Regions from separate parts of the Homo sapiens genome. Here all the other regions are linked to region 2. Evidence: promoter capture Hi-C in human tissues and cell types (Jung and others, 2019). All regions are on one chromosome and are shown on one strand. Each heading gives the region's core, a stretch centred on a gene start or on the middle of the fragment in contact. The rest is flanking DNA. Distances are from core to core; before and after follow the strand shown.

What was found. The method cuts DNA at HindIII sites, captures the fragments that hold promoters and counts their contacts. A contact is called where the count stands out against the background at its distance.
Region 1: a fragment that was not itself captured here is called in contact with the fragment with the promoter of RCBTB1 in region 2 in 1 of the 25 tissues and cell types used here (heart left ventricle).
Region 3: a contact is called between a fragment that was not itself captured here and the fragment with the promoter of RCBTB1 in region 2, in 1 of the 25 tissues and cell types used here (IMR-90 fibroblasts).
Region 4: a fragment that was not itself captured here is called in contact with the fragment with the promoter of RCBTB1 in region 2 in 1 of the 25 tissues and cell types used here (dorsolateral prefrontal cortex).

Annotation. Positions count from the first base shown.
Region 1 is chr13:49,941,088-49,943,787 of GRCh38, reverse strand. No RefSeq gene overlaps it. Among named protein-coding and RNA genes, the nearest start is that of SPRYD7, 6.1 kb to the right of the region's middle. The HindIII fragment of the contact is 6,546 bases long and covers 1-2,700 here.
Region 2 is chr13:49,584,116-49,586,815 of GRCh38, reverse strand. RCBTB1 (RCC1 and BTB domain containing protein 1) reads left to right here and starts at 1,258. Exons shown (of 13, transcript NM_018191.4): 1 at 1,258-1,372. RefSeq lists a silencer at 1,025-1,734. The HindIII fragment of the contact is 9,086 bases long and covers 1-2,700 here.
Region 3 is chr13:49,264,607-49,267,306 of GRCh38, reverse strand. All of the region lies in intron 4 of CDADC1 (cytidine and dCMP deaminase domain containing 1), which reads right to left. Among named protein-coding and RNA genes, the nearest start is that of CDADC1, 18 kb to the right of the region's middle. The HindIII fragment of the contact is 5,389 bases long and covers 1-2,700 here.
Region 4 is chr13:49,117,896-49,120,595 of GRCh38, reverse strand. All of the region lies in intron 4 of FNDC3A (fibronectin type III domain containing 3A), which reads right to left. Among named protein-coding and RNA genes, the nearest start is that of MLNR, 100 kb to the left of the region's middle. The HindIII fragment of the contact is 4,000 bases long and covers 1-2,700 here.

The DNA.
Region 1 (2,700 bases), core at 201-2,700, 360 kb before region 2:
ACTTGACCGGGTGTGTTGGCTCACGCCTGTGATCCCAGCACTTTGGGAGGCCAAGGCGGGTGGATCACGAGGTCAAGAGATCGAGACCATCCTGGCCAACATGGTGAAACCCCGTCTCTACTAAAAATACAAAAATTAGCTGGTCGTGGTGGCATGCACCTGTAGTCTCAGCTACTCAAGAGGCTGAGATGGGAGAATCACTTGAACCTGGGAGGCGGAGGTTGCAGCAAGCCGATATTGGGCCACTGCACTCTAGCCTGGCAACAGAGCAAGACTCCGTCTCAAAAAACAAAACAAAACAAAAAAACATATTTACTTATTTGGGGGGCTTCGTTCATTTGTTGTTTTTATAAATATTTACAGAGTGCTCACTACATAGCAGACATCATTGAATTAAGAACATATAAAATGGAATTTTCCTTTTTTTCCTAAGAAATTGGAAAGATTAAAGTATCTTCCTAACTTCTCTCTTCCTTTCCAAGGCTTCACATATTTTTTTTAAGAATGTATTAAATGTTTGATGTGGACTGATATCTGCATTAGATGTAAGACATGATATCTACAAACAGGAAGTTTACCTACTTAAGAAGGGATGTAAAATAATTCTTAAAGCATTTGGGCCGGGCGCGGTGGCTCACGCCTGTAATCCCAGCACTTTGGGAGGCTGAGGCGGGCGGATCACGAGGTCAGGAGATCGAGATCATCCTGGCTAACACGGTGAAACCCCGTGTCTACTAAAAATAGAAAAAAAAATAGAAAAAAAAAATGGTGGCGGGCGCCTATAGTCCCAGCTACTCGGGAGGCTGAGGCAGGAGAATGGCGTGAACCCGGGAGGCGGAGCTTGTAGTGAGCCGAATCGCGCCACTGCACTCCAACCTGGGCGACAGAGTGAGACTCTGTCTCAAAAAAAAAGGATTTGGTTAAAAGTTTGGAATAGCTAAAAATAAGAAAAAAGTATTTTAATTATACTAAATTCTCTGCAAATCTATTCTGCTACACTAAAGTTCTCTTGGCCATAAACATATCCCTGGAGCTTCTTCTCACTAACTCTTGGTATTTCAAAGTTATTTCACGTTTTTGTTCTTGTTTTACAAATGGGGTCTTGCCACACTGCCTAGGCTGGAGTGCAGTGGCTATTCACAGGTGCCATCATAGCTCACTACAGCTTTGAACCCTTGGGCTCAAGTGATTCTCCCACCTCAGCCTTCCAAGTACCTGGGACTACACACATGTACTATCATACCCAACTCTCATAGGGTTGTTTCTTTTTTTTGTTGTTTTTTGTTTTGAGCATTTTTCGAACAATCCAGAGTTTCATAAACTTTCACCAACAATTTTAAGTAGTCCCACGTTCCCTATGACTCAGGTTACAGAATCTGTAAAGCATAGTGGCTTAGCAGTTGTCCCCAGAACTACACTAATTCTATCCAGCACCATATCTACAACCATAGACACACTTGCTTTAACAGAAGTATAGCAGTTCCTTCTCAACACAAAAGGCAGGTTTCTGACAGTCCCGGGGATATTCATCTGCAGGGCCATTATTGAGAAAATAGGTTTGAAGGGATTGTCACTATAGGTGGAGCCTTTTGAAAAACTTTATAAATATTTTTACATTCACAAAAATAAAATTATAGAGACTAAATGGCATTGTATCTATCCTAAATTAGTAATGTTGGGTACATTTTAATAATCCATGTGACCTTCCTTGTTACTAGAAATATTTTAGGGTCTTTCTCACAATTTCAACAAAATATTTATAATTTTGTTTGGTTGCAGATATTATATATACCCAGAAGTGTTTTTTTCTTCTGTCTGGTCCTTTCTGCAAATGTCGAGTACTTTTTCACTTTATAATCTGGAGATGGTGACTTCTTGCTCCTTGACCCCTACTGTACTTCAAAGACACAGAATCACTTGAATGCTTGAGATGCTTTGGGAAGCTTTTATTTGAACTATTTGGCACAGCTAAGTGTTCTCCAGCCTTTCTCCCATAATACCAGATTATGTAGCCTTATCTTTGGCCATGAAAACTTTGTACACACTTCTCATCAGCCCTTTCTACAAAGTCACAGGTTTAAATGCCCTCCTGTTAATAAGGAGCATAGATCCAAGGACGAACTTTACTTGTCCTCATCTTCCTTTATTTCTTTTGAAAATGCAAAAAACTACTTTGGTTTTGACCTTTGCTTTGTCTCCCTTTTGTATCCTCAGTATCTATTTTCGCTAATTATTGCCACAGTAGTACTTAGAATCTAAATTGGCAAGGAAAAGTACTTAGAAATACACTAGGGTACTTGCATTTCGAGTAAGGGAACTTGAGGTTGGGCAGGGATCACAGAAATCCCCTTGGTTTATGACAGTCTGCTTTATTTTCCATGGAAGGTAAGCAGAATAAGGTACAGTTCTAGGTTGAAAGTTTTTGGTAAATCACATTTTCTATTCTCTGAGACCTTTTTTATGTAGCACTTGCTATTGCTTTTTCTTCATTTTAAATATTAAAAAAATTGTTCTATTTTTATTTCTTTTGTACCTTTTTCAAATTCCTTTATTTTACCCCAGCTTCTTTTTCTTCCTAATGCCAAGTCTCTGCATTTTCCAAGTCTCCAACCTGGTTTACCTGTCTTAGCAATTAAAAGTACTATGTTGACCAGGCTGGTCTCAAACTCCTGACTTCAGGTGATTCGCCCTCCTCAGCCT
Region 2 (2,700 bases), core at 9-2,508:
GACCTCAGAATAGATACAGAACTAAGCTCAATTCTCTTATTGCATTAGTTTCTTAATACCTTTTTTTTTTTTTTTAATCATTGGCCCTGGTTTTCTTTAAGTGGGGGAGGTGGTGATTCAGGACATTTCAGATACAGACAAAAGAATGAACAAAGCAAAAAGGAGTAAAGAAACTTAGAGAAAAAGTAAATAATCCAAAGAAAGTTGAGTAGTCAAGGAAAACAAATTATTTGTAGCCAGAGCCTCCAGTAATGTTGGGGAAGTGGCAAGAGATGAGGGACGGTAGGACTTTTTTAATAATTCAAGTTACCAAAAGTGAAGTTATCTGGTGATATTTAGAAAATGAAATGTTTTTCTGTTTATTCCTAGGAGCTCAAATGGGAAAGGTAAGTGAACAAGTGGCTGGAATGCTATGCCAACAAGTTTGGATTTTATCCTGCAGCGCCAACTGGGAGTTCTCCGAGAGCTGTATGGTATTTTACAAAGGGACTGTAGTCTTTATAGGTGATAGGCTGGAGCAGCTCGTAGCAGTCCCTCTCCTGGCCTCAGTTTACTCGCTGGTAACACGAATCCGGTTGGACCAGATGCCCTCTTAGGTCCCGTCTAACCTCTATGGCATGCTTCCGAGGTACCTCTGCCTCTTTCCAATACCAGGACCTGTGCCTCATCTCGTCCTTCCTTCATACCTTTGTCCAGCTGCCACCTTCCCTAGTCCCTGGCCTGCCTCAGGTACTTTCAATCAGGAAGTGAGGGGCGGGGAGGGAGGGAGGCGCGTCTCCAGTAAAAACAAACTAGTCCCAGCTCCGCCGCCTTTCCTCCCAGGCAGCACCACCTGGGTGGTGCCCCGGGGCCAGACGCGCTCTAGAGTGGGCAGGGAGCCAAGTTTCTCGGTCGCTTTTCCGTCCTAGGTCTCTGGGGTGGTAGGCCGACCCTCCCCACAGCCAAGCCATCTCGGGGAGCAGAGCAGGAGCCCGTGCCTCGCGCGTTCCTGGTTCCTCAGACACAAAAGCCTCTAAGTCCCGGCAGCAGCCACCGGATTTCATGGGGACACTCCAGTGGCAGGGCCTCGGGGCGGGCCTGAGACGGCCAATCGGCTTCTAAAGAAGTCGGGTTGTAGGGCCCGAAGAGCAGGGTTTCGGCCGGGGCCGGGGCCGGGGCGGTGCGGGATGCTCGGCTGGGTAGCGTCCCGGGCGCGCGCTGCACCGGGTCACGTGAGGCGGCCGGGGCCACGTGACCCGGCGGGCCCGGCGCCCTGGCGCTCCTCCTCTTCGCTGCCGGTGGGCACCGCCGCTCGCTCGCACTTCTGCGCCCATTGGAGCTTCGGAGATCCCTGCGGTCCCGCGGGACGGCGCGGCAGCAGCTGACCTCGCAGGTAGCGTGTGGGCGCGGGGTCGAGCTCGCGGAGGCCTCTTCCCCCTCGGCCCTGCCCCTGCTTCCCTTCCCCGCAGGCCGGGCCGGGAGTGCCCCGTTACTCCTGTACCTCCCGCCTCCCTCGCTCGGGCTCCCGGGCAGTCCCTGCGGGCGCTGCGTCCGGGGCGAGGGATGGGGTCCCCGGCCCGGCCCCGCCAGCACCTCAGCTAATGTGCTCTCCTGCGAGGAGGAGGGAAGGATGGGGAGAGGCGAGGGAAAGTTTTCCCTGCCTCCCTCTCTTTTTTGAGGTGCACGGACTCGATTTTGCTCGTAGCTGAAGTCTGACTGCTGTGGGTGCCGTTTTACTGAGAGGAGATCTCCCCTCCGACTCTTCCTATTCTCTCTCCTTTCCAAGATCTTAGCATCTCTCCTTCGTCTCCTGAGAGTAGTGCTGTCACAAACCGTATTCTTTATCGTTTCCCTTTCCGACACAGAATCCACAAAGGCAGGGATTTTGTTAGTGAGGACTTTTATCCAGGCGTGCGGTGAACTCTAAATAAGTGACGTTTCCCTTGTCTGCCTCTGATAAAGTACCTACCTGCTCGGTTTAAGATGACTATCGAGCACGCTGTGTTCTGCTCGCATAAGTGGCCTTTTGTTTTTATTTATTTGCATGTAAGACACTTTCAAGCCATCTGCGGAACTCTGCAGCTGGGGATTACAATTTTATAAAGCAGTCTTGTAATAATGCTTTTAGAAAACCAGATTCATGATCTTCCTTGCTTTTGCCCTATTCTTTTTTTGGGAGGACTAAAAGCCCTTAGAGGACAAAAACTGAGTTTCTGAAACTGGTGTGTATTGTGGGCTAATAACATTAAAACATCAAAGTATATAATGCCGGAAGGAATGGAAAAATGATTGAATCCTGAGGGCAGTTTATAGGTGCTTTAAACTTTAGAGTACTCATTTCAAGTGAGCACTGGGTGAATTTCACCCGTTTAAACTGCTTTCAGGGTCGAGGATGTAACTGTATATTTGGATTCTATTAATATAACAGTTCATCTGTGGGATGGACTTTAATCCATTTAATCCATTGTGTGAATATCAGTCTATTTATTAATACTCTAGACGGGTCCTTTTTCTTCTACCCGCTAGTCTGTTTCTCTTGAAGAGGAAGCATATTCATCTTTAAAGAGATTTTTGCAAGTGATTTTTTTAAGTGTGTGATCCAAATGATAAAGTTCTGTGAACTTCAGAAAACAAGTAGCCATAAAAACCCAAAGCTGTCAAGCTTGTAGCTTTTAAAAAATGATTTGAAAATTTTAAAGCGTGCCCGTATGCTGCAGCAAG
Region 3 (2,700 bases), core at 31-2,530, 320 kb after region 2:
CTGCCAGTCTTTGTACAGCTCACAGGTTAAGAATGGGTTTTACATTTTAAAATAGTTGGACAAATCAAAAGAACATTTTGTGACACATCGAACTGTCAGAAATTCAAATTTCAGTATCCATAAATAAACCTTTATTGAAACACAGACACACCCATTCACTTATATAGTCTTTGGGTGCTTTCGTGTGGCAGAGTTGAGTAGCTGTGACAGACACCACACGGCCTGCAAAGTCTAAAATATTTATTATCTGGCCTTTTCAAGAAAAAGTTACCCAGCCTCTCACAGAGCCTCTAGGAATGCATTTGTGGAGTTACTGGTGTTGTGAAGTGTGATCCCAAAGCCCAGCGCTAAAACTATATACTCGAAGAGTCCTCCATGGTGCCATGGCTGTTTTTTAAAATCTTACAGGGAACAACTAATATTGCCTAGTTTTCTATCTGGAATAAATACCTCTTCCATGCATTAAAAATGTTCCTCTCCACAGACTGAGAATTCTTCTGAGAATCCATTCTAGGAAAATATTCTAAATACAGAGAAGAAATCTCATGCATGCACATTTAGTGCAGCATTCTTTAAAATAGCAAGCAAAGACGTTAAACAAACAAAAAACCCAAACCCAAAAACCTAAATGACCAAAATAGGGGAATGGTTGAATTAATTATGGTCCTCCTCATAATAAAACAGTTATCAAATATGTCCACAAAGAATTTATAACATGAAAAAATTCTTATGTGATGTTGGGATGGTGTCTGAAGGGCAATATTAACTTTTTAAAGCTTACAAAATTAAAGACAAAACAACAAACTAAATAGATCATTTTTCAATCAGTGTGACAGAGGAAAGGTTAGTAATGTTTAATATACAGAAAATATTTCAATTCATTAGAGCACATATGAATTGACAAGAATAAGGCCTAAAGAGAGACAAAAAGATACGAACAGACAATTTGTAAAAGAGAAAACATAACAGGATAACAAATGTGAAAAAATATTTTAATTTGTATTTGAAATTGAACGATGAGATGCCTTATACATAGTTAAGTACACAAATGTTCGTCAATTAATGAACAGTTTATAACAAAGAGACCCCTTTGCTAGTACTGCATGTAATTTCAGCTAGGAGAGATTTTTTTTTTGTGATTGTACCCAGAAGCAAATAGAAAGAGAGCCCACAGAGTGTTCTACCCTTCAAAATAATTGATGAACTAAAAAGTCTCAGTTAAACAAATAAACATTCTATCCACTCCCTGGTACTCCTGACTCACTGTGGCTTATGCTGCAAAGCAATTTTGAAGGCCTCAAACCTCATATCAGAGTGTTTCCTCCGGTTGCATTTCACCTTCCCTCTGTTCGAGTTCTCATAATCCATTTCCTAACCAGCAGTGATGGTAAACCTTTCATCTAGGCATCTTAGCTGCTTCCAGTAATCCTGATTCAAGAGGGGAAAAATCCTCTTTAGACAGACATTTGTGTATTAGTGGCAAATGCTAAAGCAGAGTTTCTCAAATTTTTTGATCTCAGGATTCCTTAACACTCTTAAAAATTATTGAGGACTCCAAAAAGCTTTTATTTATGTGGAATATATCTACTGATATTTACTGTACTTGAAAATTAAAACAAAATTTAAAATATTTATTAATTCATTAAAAATAACAATAATCTGTTATACATTAATATAAATAACATTAGCTTTATGAAAAAAACTATTTTCCAAAACAAAAATTTGTAAGAATGAGATTGTTTTAAATTTTTACAAATATCTTTAATATTTGGATTAATAGTAAAAGGAAAAACAATAGTTATCAGCAATATCACTGGAAAATTAAGAAGAGTGGAAGGACAAAACTGAGCAGCAGAATTCGTATAGACATTTAAATTTAAATTCTAAAAGCCCAATTGAGATTTTCAGGGAGGGTTTGTTCTGCCCTTTGGCCTCATGAATGAGTTTCATGAAGGGTTTCATGGATGGGCTTCAGTGGCCTATAAACTCTGTAAATTCCATTCTAATTTTTGCACATTTATTGTGTTCTGGTTAATTCCAGAAGACATTTCTAACATTTTTCTTACATCATATAATCAAAGTACTTAAATAAATTGACAATTATAAAAATAGATCAGTGAAATGCACCTTATACTTTAATAAAAAATGTTTTCAGAAATAGATAAGTGAAAGCTGAGTGTTTCTTTGATAGATTCCCCTGTACTATAGGAGTGATAATTGCAGCTATTGCAATAGTAGTAATTGTTAAATGGATACTAATGAATAGCATAGCATAGTGGGTAAGAGTTTATATAGCACAGGCTCTAGAATCAGATTAAGTAGGTTCAAATACCAGTTCTGCCAGTAACTGGCTTTAGAAACTTGGGCAAGTTAAATAATGTCTCCCAGCCTCAGTTTCCCTATTTGTAAAATGGGGGAAATAATGGTAGCTACCTCATAATTCATTATGAATTCAGTGAGTTAAACTTGAAAAGACTTATTACAGTAGCTGGCACATAAAGACTTGATAGTAGTTTATATGGATGCTATCTCATATTAGCATACATGGAATTAATAGTGTATCACTATACCTTTTTTTTTTTTTTTAAATAGAGACCAGTCTGTCACCCAAGCTGGAGTGCAGTGGTGACATCATAGCTCACTGTAACTTCTAACTCCCATACTCTACCAATCCTCCTGCCTCAGCCTCCAGATTGGCTG
Region 4 (2,700 bases), core at 155-2,654, 470 kb after region 2:
GGGTCTCCTGAATACAGCACACCAATGGGTCTCAACTCTTTATCCAATTTGCCTGTCTGTGTCTTTTAATTGGGGCATTTAGCCCATTTACATTTAAGATTAATACTGTTATGTGTGAATTCGATCCTGTCATTATGATGCTAGCTGGTTATTTTGCCCATTAGTTGATGCAGTCTCTTCATAGAGTCGATGGTCTTTACAATTTGGCATGTTTTTGCAGTGGCTGGTACTGGTTTTTCCTTTCCATATTTAGGGCTTCCTTCAGGAGCTCTTGTAAGGCAGGCCTGGTGGTGATGAAATCTCTCAGCATTTGCTTGTCTGTAAAGGATTTTATTTCTCCTTCGCTTATGAAGCTTAGTTTGGTTGGATATGAAATTCTGGGTTGAAAATTCTTTCCTTTAAGAATGTTGAATATTGGCCCCCACTCTCTTCTGGCTTGGAGAGTTTCTGAAGAGAGATTTGCTATTAGTCTGACGGGCTTCCCTTTGTGGGTAACCTGACCTTTCTCTCTGGCTGCCCTTAACATTTTTTCCTTCATGTCTACCTTGGTGAATCTGACAATTACGTGTCTTGGGTTTGCTCTTCTCAAGGAGTATCTTAGTGGTTTTCTCTGTATTTCCTGAATTTGAATGTTGGCCTGTCTTGCTAGGTTGGGGAAGTTCTCCTGGATAATATCCTGAAGAGTGTTTTCCAACTTGGATCCATATTCCCCATCACTTTCAGGTATACCAATCAAACATAGGTTTGGACTTTTCACATAGTCCCATATTTCTTGGAGGCTTTGTTCGTTCATTTTCATTCTTGTCTCTCTAATCTTGTCTTCACACTTTATTTCATTAAGTTGATCTTCAATCTCTGACATCCTTTCTTCTGCTTGATTGATTTGGCTGTTGATACTTGTGTATGCTTCGCGAAGTTCTTGTGCTGTGTTTTTCAGCTCTATCAGGTCATTTATGTTCTTCTCTAAACTGGTCATTCAAGTTAGCAATTCCTGTAACCTTTTTTCAAGGTTCTTAGCTTCCTTGCATTGGGTTAGAACATGCTCCTTTAGCTCAGAGGAGTTTGTTATTACCCACCTTCTGAAGCCTACTTCTGTCAATTCGTCAAACTCATTCTCCGTCCAGATTTGTTCACTTGCTGGCAAGGAGCTGTGATCCTTTGCAGGAGGCTTTTGGAATTTTCAGCCTTTTTGTGCTGGTTTTTCCTCATCTTCATGGATTTATCTACCTTTGGCCTTTTGTCTTGGTGACCTTCGGATGGGGTTTCTGTGTGGACATCGTGTTTCTTGATGTTGTTGCTATTCCTTTCTTTTACTTTCCTTCTAGTAGTCAGGCCCCTCTGCGGCAGGTCTGCTGGAGTTTGCTGGAGGTCCACTCAGACCCTGTTTGCCTGGGTATCGCCAACAGAGGCTGCAGAACAGCAAAGACTGCTGCCTGTTCTTTCCTCTGGAAGCTCTGTCCCAGAAGGGCACCCACCAGATGCCAGCTGGAGCTCTCCTGTATGAGGTGTCTGTCGACCCTGCTGGAAGGTGTCTCCCAGTCAGGAGGCACGGGGGTTAGGGAACCACTTGAGGAGGCAATGTGTCCCTTAGCAGAGCTTGGGAGCTCTGCTGGGAGATCCACTGCTTGCTTTAGAGCCGGTAGGCAGGAACGTTTACGTCTGCTGAAGCTGTGCCCACACTTGCCCCTTCCCCCAGGTGCTCTGTCTCAGGAAGACGGGCGTTTTATCTATAAGCCCCTGACTGGGGCTGGAGCCTTTCTTTCAGAGATGCCCTGCCCAGAGAGGAGGAATCTAGAGAGGTAGTCTGGCTACAGTGGCTTTGATGAGCTGCGGTGGGCTCTGCCCAGTTCCAGCTTCCTGGTGGCTTTGTTTACACTGCTCAGGGAAAACTACCTACTCAAGCCTCAGTAATGGCAGACGCCCCTCCCCCATCAAGCTTGAGTGTCCCAGGTGGACTTCAGACTGCTGTGCTGGCAGCGAGAATTTCAAGCCAGTGGATCTTAGCTTGCTGAGCTCTGTGGAGGTAGGATCCGCTGAGCTAGACCACTTGGCTCCCTGACTTCAGCCCCCTTTCCAGGGGAGTGAACGGTTCTGTCTTGCTGGCGTTCCAGGAGCCACTGGAATATGAAAAAAAGCTCTTGCAGCTAGCTCAGTGTCTGCCCAAATGCCTGCCCAGTTTTGTGCTTGAATCCCAGGGCCCTGGTGGTATAGGCACCGAAGGGAATCTCCTGGTCTGCGGGTTGCGAAGACTGTGGGAAAAGTGTGGTATCTGGGCCGGAATGCACTGTTCCTCATGGCACAGTCCCTCATGGCTTCCCTTGGCTAGGGGAGGGAGCTCCCCGACCCCTTTTGCTTCCTGGGTGAGGCGATGCCCCACCCTGCTTCAGCTCGCCCTCTGTGGGCTTGCCCTCTGTGGAAGAATCAAGTCTTACATACTGGAAACTTAAATTAACTAAAAAACGATAAGACTAGATTTTTGTCTTTGGATTACCCTGTGTAATGAAAACGACACATTTTCTAGAGATAATCTTCATCTTAAATTAAGATTAATAATAGTAGCCCACTAACCTCACATAATCCTTCCAGGAAGATTATTGTTAAAATTCATTAATTTATGTGACAACTATTTATGGGACACTTACTACATTTGAGTTACCACAAGAACACAAAAATAATTAAAAGGCAGTTCCTATCTTAAGG